3 separate regions of the Homo sapiens genome follow, and regions 2 and 3 are each linked to region 1. Evidence: promoter capture Hi-C in 16 types of primary human blood cells and fetal thymus (Javierre and others, 2016). All regions are on one chromosome and are shown on one strand. Each heading gives the region's core, a stretch centred on a gene start or on the middle of the fragment in contact. The rest is flanking DNA. Distances are from core to core; before and after follow the strand shown.

Evidence for each region. Contacts are between HindIII fragments. The CHiCAGO score rates a contact against its expected background, and 5 or more counts as called.
Region 2: the fragment with the promoter of AVPR2 here is called in contact with the fragment with the promoter of BCAP31 in region 1 in 15 of 17 cell types (non-activated CD4 T cells, M1 macrophages, naive B cells and 12 more); the score reaches 10.6 in non-activated CD4 T cells.
Region 3: a contact is called between a fragment that was not itself captured here and the fragment with the promoter of BCAP31 in region 1, in 3 of 17 cell types (total B cells, activated CD4 T cells and M1 macrophages). The highest score is 5.2, in total B cells.

Annotation. Positions count from the first base shown.
Region 1 is chrX:153,722,449-153,725,636 of GRCh38, reverse strand. It overlaps BCAP31 (B cell receptor associated protein 31), which reads left to right and starts at 1,250. Exons shown (of 8, transcript NM_001256447.2): 1 at 1,250-1,303; 2 at 2,349-2,484. The coding sequence starts at 2,393. It overlaps ABCD1 (ATP binding cassette subfamily D member 1), which reads right to left and starts at 781. Exons shown (of 10, transcript NM_000033.4): 1 at 1-781. The coding sequence starts at 370. RefSeq lists an enhancer at 1-161 and silencers at 622-1,581, 1,792-1,971. The HindIII fragment of the contact is 9,880 bases long and covers 1-3,188 here.
Region 2 is chrX:153,902,735-153,905,922 of GRCh38, reverse strand. It overlaps AVPR2 (arginine vasopressin receptor 2), which reads right to left and starts at 1,250. Exons shown (of 4, transcript NM_000054.7): 1 at 1,152-1,250; 2 at 753-949; 3 at 1-391. The coding sequence starts at 777. The HindIII fragment of the contact is 5,945 bases long and covers 1-3,188 here.
Region 3 is chrX:153,886,914-153,890,101 of GRCh38, reverse strand. It overlaps L1CAM-AS1 (L1CAM antisense RNA 1), which reads right to left. Exons shown (of 7, transcript NR_130768.1): 6 at 3,045-3,139; 7 at 1,112-1,605. Among named protein-coding and RNA genes, the nearest start is that of L1CAM, 2.3 kb to the right of the region's middle. The HindIII fragment of the contact is 2,115 bases long and covers 665-2,779 here.

The DNA of each region.
Region 1 (3,188 bases), core at 1-2,500:
GGACGATGCAGCGGGCCAGCCTTCCGTCCAGGCGGGCCACATACACCGACAGGAAGGTGCGGCTCACCAAGGCGGCCGAGTGCAGGGCCAGCAGCCCCGTCTCCCGGCACAGGACCCGGGGGAACAGCAGCCGCAGGAGCCACAGGAGCCGCTGCAGGAATACCCGGTTCATGCCAGCTTTGGCCGCCGCGACCCCGGAGGCCTCCTGCGTGGGCTCCCCGGCGGGCGCCTGAAGACCCCTGGCCGGGGCCAGGCACTGGCGCACCAAGGGGTAGACTTTGTGGGCTCCATAGGCCGCGAGGGCCAGGAGCACGGCCGTGCGCTTCAGCGTGTTCCCCCGCCAGGGCCGGGGCCTGGAGAGCACCGGCATGTCACCTGGGCTGGCTGCCGCGTAGGGACTGGGGCTGGTGCCTGGGGCAGCAGTTGAGGCAGGTGGCTGGAAGGATTGTTGCTCTGACCCTGGGCCTGTTGTCTAGGCAACTGGAAACCTTGCGATGGCCCCTGAGACTGTCGCTTTAGGCCCCCGGGGTGGTGCTGGGGCCCCTGGTGCGGTGGGCTCAGGGCCCTCCAGGGTCGCGGCCTCTTCGGGCAGCCCAAGTGGAGGAACTTGGCTCTCCTGTCCTGTCAGTGCCCTGGCCCCTGAGGTCAGGGCCTTGAGAGGTCTCGGGCAGAGGGGGCGTCTCTTCCTCTCCACCTTCTCCTCCTCCTCCTCCCCCGGTGGCGCCCCTCCCCGGGGCACCAGGCGCGTCCGTCCGCTCCGCAGCCTGGCTGAAGCGACAGTGACTCCTCCACCGGCCCAGAATCCCCACCCACTCTTCCCCAGGGGCGAGTCGGGGGAAGGGGAGGAGGCGGAGGAGGGGCGAGGGGCGGAGTCCGGGCGCGGGAGCCCCACCCTGTTCTCGCCCCTCGGCGGGGCCCGCCCACACCCCCACCTCCCGTTCTCGCCCCTCGGCGGGGCCCCTCCCGCACCACAGAGACGTGGGACGGCCGCGCGGACTAGAGAAGCGGCCCTCGCCGGCCCGACAAAGCCCCGCCCCGCCCCGCCCGCGTGCTCGCTCCACCCCGCCCTGCTCGCCCGGAGCCCGAGGCGCCTCTTCCTCTCCCGCTCGGAGCGCCGGCCCTCCGCTCCGGGGCGGGGTGGGAAGCGGAGGTGGGCGGAGCCTCCGGGGCCTCGCGAGGGCTGGTGGGCGGTGCCCGGCGGGCGCTTCCGGTTTCCGGCCGCGGTATGAGGGGCGGGGCCGGGGCTGCTGTGGGAGAGTTCTGTTGCTGCGGCGGGGCCTGCACGTTGACTGTGGGAAACTCGGTGAGCGGGCTCCGCGCGCCGGGCTGGGCTCCGGGACCGCGGAGGCTCCCCGGCCCATCGACGAGGGAGAGAGGCGAGCGGCGCGGGGAGGCCCGGGGGCCGGGGAATCTCGGGGCCCGCAGCCTACCTGCGTGTGAGAGGCAGGGGCGAGGGGAAACCGGGCGGCGCCTCTAGAAGCTGGTCTCGGGGGCGGGGCGGGGGGCGGTGAAGCCCCACCTGGAGGAGCGGCCGGGATGGGCCTCCGGGACGGTGTGCCAGGCCGGGGCCAAGTCGGAGGCCCCTCGCTCTGGGTGGGCGCTGGGGCCCGCGAGGGCTACTGTAAGGACCCCTGGCTTCTGAGGATACTGCGTCTAGAACTTTCTCCGTATGGGGCCTTGAGGTGCTTGGTCGAGACCTGCCTTTGCGCTTGGTCCCGAATCCTGCCCTCTAGGAGTCGCTCTTGCGGGCCTCCAGCCCACCGGAGGCGAAGCGGCCCCGGGCGGAAGGCCGCTGGATCCTCGAGGGAGGTGCCGGTTTCTCTCCGCGGGCGCCGTGGGGACGGTGGGAGGCGGGGGCGTCGGCAGCGCTTGGACTAGGTGCGGCCTTGGGCCTGCCTGGTAGCGGGGATTTGGGCCCGCAGAGCGCCCGCCTCTGCGGCTGAGTTCTGCCTGGCGGGGAAGGGAGCGCCCGATGGGTGCCGAGGCGTCCTCCTCTTGGTGCCCTGGCACTGCTCTTCCCGAAGAACGCCTTTCAGTTAAACGGGCGTCGGAAATCTCGGGCTTCCTGGGGCAGGGATCGTCGGGAGAGGCCGCTCTGGACGTGTTGACACACGTGCTGGAGGGGGCAGGTAATTGACCAGCGAACGGAAGTTTGTGGGGCCTGTGAACGCTGCTGGCCAAGAGGCCCTGCCGAGTGGAGCCCTGCTTCCGCCAGCGCATCAGAGACTTTGAAGCAAAGTGCAGGGGGTCAGGGTGGAGAGTGGCGGCCCCAGCCTCGCAGGGTAACTGAACTGGATGTTCTTGGCTGCCCAGCGCTTACAAGTCCCGTACCTTTTGTGCCCTGCCAGGAAACAAGCTCACATCTTCCTGTGGGAAACCTTCTAGCAACAGGATGAGTCTGCAGTGGACTGCAGTTGCCACCTTCCTCTATGCGGAGGTCTTTGTTGTGTTGCTTCTCTGCATTCCCTTCATTTCTCCTAAAAGGTATGGCCTATGGAGCAAGCAGGCGAGTTAGGCAGGAGGGTGCCTGTGCCCTAGCCCTGGGACTGGTGTGTGCAGCTGGTGGACCCTGGAATTGGGACCCGATGGAACAGGTAGAACCTGTCTGGGGTGGGGGTGGCAGGGGTTGTGTTTGTTATTGCCAACCCTTCCCAGGGTTCTGCTTCGTCATGACTTGCTCAGTTCCTTTTCCTGTGTCCCCTGCCTTCTGGTCTTCAGAATGCCCCCGAGAGGCAGGAAGATCTATGTTACAGTTCTGGAAATGATGCCCTCCCACCCACTCTTGGTCCACGGGGTGCTGGGATGGTAGCGTGGGATTCGGAAGACTTGCACCACTGGGTCACGTTGTTGCTGATTTGGTGACTCTTGTCCTCCTAACTAGTCTCACTGGTATTGCGCAGTGGCTGCATGAACATTACTCAGCCTGTGGAGGATGAAGCCATATTCCCTTTTAATGAACAGAGGACCTGTTAAAAGTGAATTGGAGATTAATTTTAATTATGTATAATACCTGAACACATCCCTATTTAAATTACGATATTACAAATAAGGCCAAATCTCCACAGGTATTTTTAAAAGCCGTTTTTTCGTGAAAAATTATCTTTGATGTGATACCATAGAAAGTATGCAGTGCTGTCTGAGGAGGATTCTTGTAGAAAACCACACCTTCGTACAGTTGACAAGACGTG
Region 2 (3,188 bases), core at 1-2,500, 180 kb before region 1:
CGGTGGCGGTCCAGCGTCATGGCCAGGATCATGTAGGAGGAGGCATACATGCCCACCATCTGCAGATACTTCACGGCCCGACACAGGGCATCTGGCCCACGGAAGCGGTCGGTGGCCTTCCAGGCCAGCTGGGGCAGCACTTGGAACAGAGCCACGGCCAGGTCGGCCAGGCACAAGTGGCCAATGAAGACGTGTATGGGTGCCCAGTGGCCCCGCCGGCCCCGCCGAGCTAGGGCCGCCAGCACCAGGCCATTGCTCAGGGCCACAGCCACAAAGACTATGGAGAGCAGCGCCAGCTCCGCCCGGGCTAGCAGCGGGTCCCGGGTGTCCAGTGGCCTCTCCTGGCTGCTGTTGCTGGGCAGGCTGGGCAGAGAGGGATGCCCAGGCACAGCTGGGAAGGAGTCGGGAAGAGGGCCTGGTTAGAGAGGGTGCTGTGCAGGGGGACTCAGGCCTGCCTCCCGTGCCCCCATCCGGACACCCACTTCCTGGCTCCTAGCAGAGGGGACTCCAGGAAAGCCATGTTATGAGGGATACACACCCCAGGCTCATGCAGTCCAGAAGGAAGGGCAGCCCCAGCCCCAGCCCCAGCCCCAGCCCTGGCGGGGAAGTGGGGCTGTGCTCCCCTCCCCACTCATTGGCAGCCTGGAGAGACACACCCAGAGGTGAGGGTGAAGGAGGTCTTTAGAAAGAGGGGCTTCCCTGAATCGTCAAACCCACTCTGCCCACCGGACTCATGGAGGGGCAAGCCTTACCGGAAGTGGTGGACGCCATGAGCATGGTGGGGCTGGGGCAGGTGTTCTGAGGGCCTGGAGGTGATGTGCGGACTCAGCCTCTGCCTGAGGAGCAAGTTCAATGGCCCAGGGTCTCTGGACTGGAGCCCTTATAGAGATGCCAGCATGGCAGATGCCTGTTGGCGTGTGTGCACGTGTCGGTGGCAGTATGGCCAGTCCTGGGCAGGGAAGATTGAGAGGGATGGTCAGACAGACGGATGCACAGAACCCAGGATCCCCCAGGCAGCCCATGAGTCCCGGGTTTGGGAGTGGGCACCCCAGACAGACACGCAGAACTCCCCTGCCCCAACCGAGGCCGAGAGAGGCCACCATCCGAGGGCTGGGGACTGGGCAGGGGGGCAGGCAGGCGCAGCCCCTTACCTGGCTGGGCTCCTGGGCAGCTGGGCGGTGGCGTGAAGGTGGCTGGGTGCTCAGATCTGCTCTCCATCGGCTGCCCTGCCCTGGCCCAGCCCAGCCTCTGGGAGTGACCTGGCCAGGAGGGGACTTCCTCCCCCTCCCCCTTTCCCCCAGGCCTCCCCTGGCCTCCTGTTTCCCTTCCTTTCCCCAGGGCCTCCCTGGTCCCGGCCCAGGACTCCCTCCTCCCACTGCCATAGCCTCCACGCCCACCCTCACCCTACCACGCCCCCCTGGTTGGATTGTCTGGGTTGGCAGTGCTCTGGGAGGTCACTTAGTTCAGCATTCCCATTTTATAAGTGGGGAAACTGAGGCCAGAGAGCGGTGGGTCTGGCCCAGGACTGCGCTGCTTTTTCATGGGAGCTTCACGCCCCCTTCCCAAGTTGGGGTCCTCCTGCTCCTCGCTGGGCCCAGGCAAGGAAGGGGTGAAAACACTTTCGCTGGGCCCCTCCCAGGCCCACGCAGGCCCCTCCTCCTCCCCAGTTAGGGCCCAGTTGGCCGGAGACGAGGGACAGGAAAGGGAGGAGTGGGGCAGGGGCCAAGCCAGGCTTCACGAACCCCTGTGAGATCCAGGGACACCCCCACCCTCTTCCTCCTGCCCCACCTGCAACTACCTGTCCTAGGAAGAGGGGCTGGGGACCTCCGTGTGCTCACGGGCTCCCTCCCACCACACACAACCTCACATGATACAGCCACACAGCCACAAACACACAACACAGAGACGCTCGCTCATGTTCTTGAACATACCATGAGTATGGACGCACCTTCCCTGTACCTGAGCCCTCCTCCTCCCTCCCCCAACACCTCTCTCCTTCCCCTGTCCCCACACCCCCTCCAGCCCCCATCCCAGTAGTTCTCTTTCCACTCCCCCCGCACCCAGGCCTGGCTTGGCTCAGCCGAGGCCAGCCCAGCCCAGCCCAGCCCAAGGCAGCTGCTTTCTTCCTGTTTGTCTGTCTTCTCTGTTGCCTGTGAAGCCAGAGACCAAAACAGCCTCACGGACCAGGCCCAAGTCCGGCCCGCGGCCAAGGCCTCCTCTTCCTGCCCAGAGAGCCTGGCAGCACCCTGGCCCCTCCCGGCCCTGTTAGGGTGGTGGGAACACAGGGTGGGCATTTTCCAGAGACAGCGCACACACCACACCACATACATACATGCACACAGCCACACGCCACACACACATGCACCCACCACACACCCATACGCCACACCACACACACACCACACCATGCACACATATATTACACACCACACACATGCACACATCACACACTCCCATACGCCACACACCCACACATGTACCCACCACACAGCCATACACACCACATACGCACAGCCAACACCACACACGCACACACCCGCAGCACACACAGGTGCACATCACACCCCGCATCTTTGCCATGTTTTTGCAGAGCCCCTTGGGGGCAGGCTGCAGAGTGCTGGCACCCCAGGCCTGACGCTTCAGCTGCATCTCCTCAGCGCATGCACATCCTCATGCTGTCCCCAATAACCGCATGCTGTCACTAATCTAGGAGCATAGAAAAGGCCTTCCTAATGCCACCCAGATCAGTGGAATAGGAGATGGCTTCCCTCAACTGGCAGAGAATTTGGGGACCCTGGCTGGGGAATAGGAAAGCAAGGCTCCAGCCCCTGCTTGGCCCCTGCCCAGTAGTGTGACCTTGAACAGGCCACGCCAGCTCTTGGCACCTCAGCTTCCCCTTCTGTGCAATGGGACTTGATGATTGAGGGAGACTACGGTGGTAAGATGGGCAGGGGTGGGGACTGGCAGGGCCTTGGGAAAGCCTTTGTTCCCTCCGTCTAAAGCCGGCTAGGGCGAGGAATCCATGCTAACCTTTTGGGGTGAGCAGACAACCATCTCCTTATCAGTTTCTCTGCCTGAACGAGGCTGTGCAGTGCCGGATCTCAGCAGCAGGTTGGGACCTCCCCTAGCAATGTGGCCAGGCCCGTGGCAATCTCTGCCCCCCTGGACTCCTCGCTTCCTGTTGTTAA
Region 3 (3,188 bases), core at 473-2,972, 160 kb before region 1:
ACCTTTAAGAGCTGTAACACTCACCGCGAAGGTCCGCGGCTTCATTCTTGAAGTCAGCGAGACCAAGAACCCACTGGAAGGAACCAACTCCAGACACACCTTCACTGATACAATGTGGGGGTGAGGCCAGGTGCAGTGACTCACTCCTGTAATCCTAGCACTTTGTGAGGCCAAGGCAGTGGATCACCACTTGAGCCCAGGAGTTCAAGACCAGTCTGGACAACATAGTGAGACCTCACCTCTACCAAAAAAGAAAAAAAAATTAATCAAGTGTGGTGGTGGCACATCTGTTGTCCCAGTACTTGGGAGGCTGTGGTGGGAGGATCACTTGAGCCCAGGAGGTCGAGGTTGCAGTGAGCCATGATCACACCACTGCACTCCAGCCTAGGGAACAGAGTGAGACCCTGTCTCAAAGTAATAACAACACTAATAAAAAATAATAAAGTGGAGGTGGGGGAGAGAGATGGGGAAAGCAGGACAAATAGAAAGCAAATACTCACCTGGCGTGACTACATCCAGAGATAGCAGCAGTCATCACCGTGTGACCAGCTGACCTGCACAGTTCAAAGACAAAGGCAGGTTCAACATCAATCTACCACTTGACTGAACAATCCACTCCTAAGCGGTTACCTTAGAGAAATGAAGACACACATTTACACAAGCTTGCATATAAATGTTTAGAGCTGCTCCATCATAATCACACAAAGCTGGAAACTACCCAAGTGTCCTTCAGTGAGTGAATGGCTGAACAAACCCTGATCCAACCAAACAATGGAATACTACTCGGCAATCAAAAGGAAATATACTGCTCTCTCTCGCCCGCATGCTCTCTCTCTCTCTCTCTCACACACACACACAAACACACACACCAACATGGATGAAGCTCAAAAAGTATGCTGCGTGAGTGTGAAAGAAGCCAGACAAAAGAATATATACGGTATGATTCCATTTATAATAAAATTTAGAAAAGACAGAAATCAGATCAGTGGTGGCCAAGGGCAGGGGGTGGTGGGAGTGGTTGGCTGCACACAACATTCACCAAAACTCCTTGAACTGTAAACCTCAAAAGGATGAATTTTACTGTATGTAAATTATACTCCAATAAAGTTGATTTTTTTTTTTTTTTTTTTGAGACAGGGTCTCACTCTGTCACCCAGGCTGGAGTGTAGTGGTGTGATCATGGCTCACTGTAGCCTCAACCTCTTGGGCTCCAGCGATCCTCCCACCTCAGCCTCCTGAGTAGTTGGGACTACAGACATGCACCACCATGCCTAATTTTAAAATTTTTTTTGTAGAGACGTGGTCTCGCTGTGTTGCCCAGGCAGGTCTCAAAGCTGATTTTTAAAAAGACAAGAATTGTTAGACAGAATCAAACCAAACCAAAACCCAACTATGTGCTGTTTCCAAGCGCTACACCTGAGATATGAAGACACAGAAAGATTGAAAGGAGAACAGAGAAAGACACGTCTGGCTGAGCCCACCCCGCCTGCCTGCTGGCACTTCCTTACTGCCCCACTGTCGTCTGTGGCTTCTGCGTCTTCTGCATGCTCATCACAGGGTCAGAGTCTGGGGCTTCCCTTGTCCAGTCCACTGTGTCTATGAGGGCTGGGTCACAGGGAGCAGGGCTGTGAGAAGCACTTGACGTTGAAGGGAAAGAGACAGTCATCTGTCTACTTGGTGTCCCCCTAACCTCCAACAGCAAGCACATGGCAGTGGGGGGGTGGCTTGCCTCTTGTTCAGGGCCAGTCCCTCCTGCTTCTCCTGGGACTTGCTCTGCCCTTGGTCTTCTGTCACTCTTGCTCTTGCTCCCATTGGCTCCTCCACTTCATTACATGGAAGTGAGAATGGGCATCGTGGTCAAGCAGAAGGGAATTCAAGTCCGAGTTCTGCCATTTACCTTCTGGGCTATCTTGGGTGGGTCATTTGACCCCTCTGAACCTTGGTTTCCTCATCTGTGAAATGGGGGCACTGATAGTGCCAATTTCTTCCTGGTTGCATGACTGCCCCTCTCTGGACCTTGGGTACCTCACTGGGAGAGTGAGGATAATAACAGCACCATCATCTGGGGTGTGTGTGTGGATGCAATGAGCCAGTGGAGAGAAAGAGACCTTCCTAACTGTGCTTGCTGGACCCAGCCTTGAGCTCTGTGGGCTTTGGTTTTCTCATCTGTAACGTGGGGCGAATGCTTCAACAGACCTCCCCAGGTTGGTGTGCAATTTAAATGTGCAGGAAATGTAACGATGGCAGGTCCATGGCTGTGCTCAGGAAATGTGATGTCGTGTAATCCTAGTAATGAATTTTTTGTTACCATAAATGGACCCATCACTACACATTAGCAGGTGCGTATAAACGGGCTCTATTCCCTGCTTACTTCACCATCCTGATGGGCATCAAACCCTAGATTAGGTAAAGGATTTGCAGAAGTTGGGGCTTGGAGGAAAGGCTGGGAACGTAGGGAGTGAGTGGAGGCAGCAACTGGAAAGGAGAGAGGCCTATCAGAGTTCAGATCAGCAAAGGCAGGAAGCTGACCACAGCTCAGTGCCTCATGGAAAGTACGCCCTCTTGGCCCAGCTCATGAGCCTGCTGGCCTCGTGACCCAGGCGGGCTCAGTTTCCTCTGCTGTCACCTGAAGATGCCCTGCAAGTGCCCCCACTCTGGAAGCAGTCTCCCTAGCCGTCCGTCTTCACTCAGGTGCCTAGTCTTGTCCATTCTCCTCCTAAAGGCTGGGCAAACATGGCATCCAGACCCTCTCTGAGCACAGATGGGTCCACCCCAAGCTTCCCATTCCAGGGGAACTGAAGCTGGCACTATGGGGGTGGGGCATCCAAGCCAGGATGCCAGGGCTGCTCCCATGTGGGCCCTCCAGGGCCCCACACCACTTGGGGAGTCTTGTGAGACTGAGTCGAGGGCCCCTGGAATGCTTCACTGGGCAACAGGCATGCCCATAAAAATACCGTGGCCGCCAGATCTGCAATCTGCCATCGGGGCCCTAGGCCTTCCTAGCCCTGAGGCTGCAGCCAGCTCGCCGGCTCCGGAATTCTTACCCCCTCCATTTTGCTTCCTCGCCTGTGAGGTCATGGCCTTGAGCCTAGGAGGGGGCACTGGGGAGGAGCTCCTTCCTTCTCGATCCTGTGCAGGGCTGCGGGGGAGAGTGGGAGAGAGTGGAGTCGGCGGGAAAGGTCGAATGG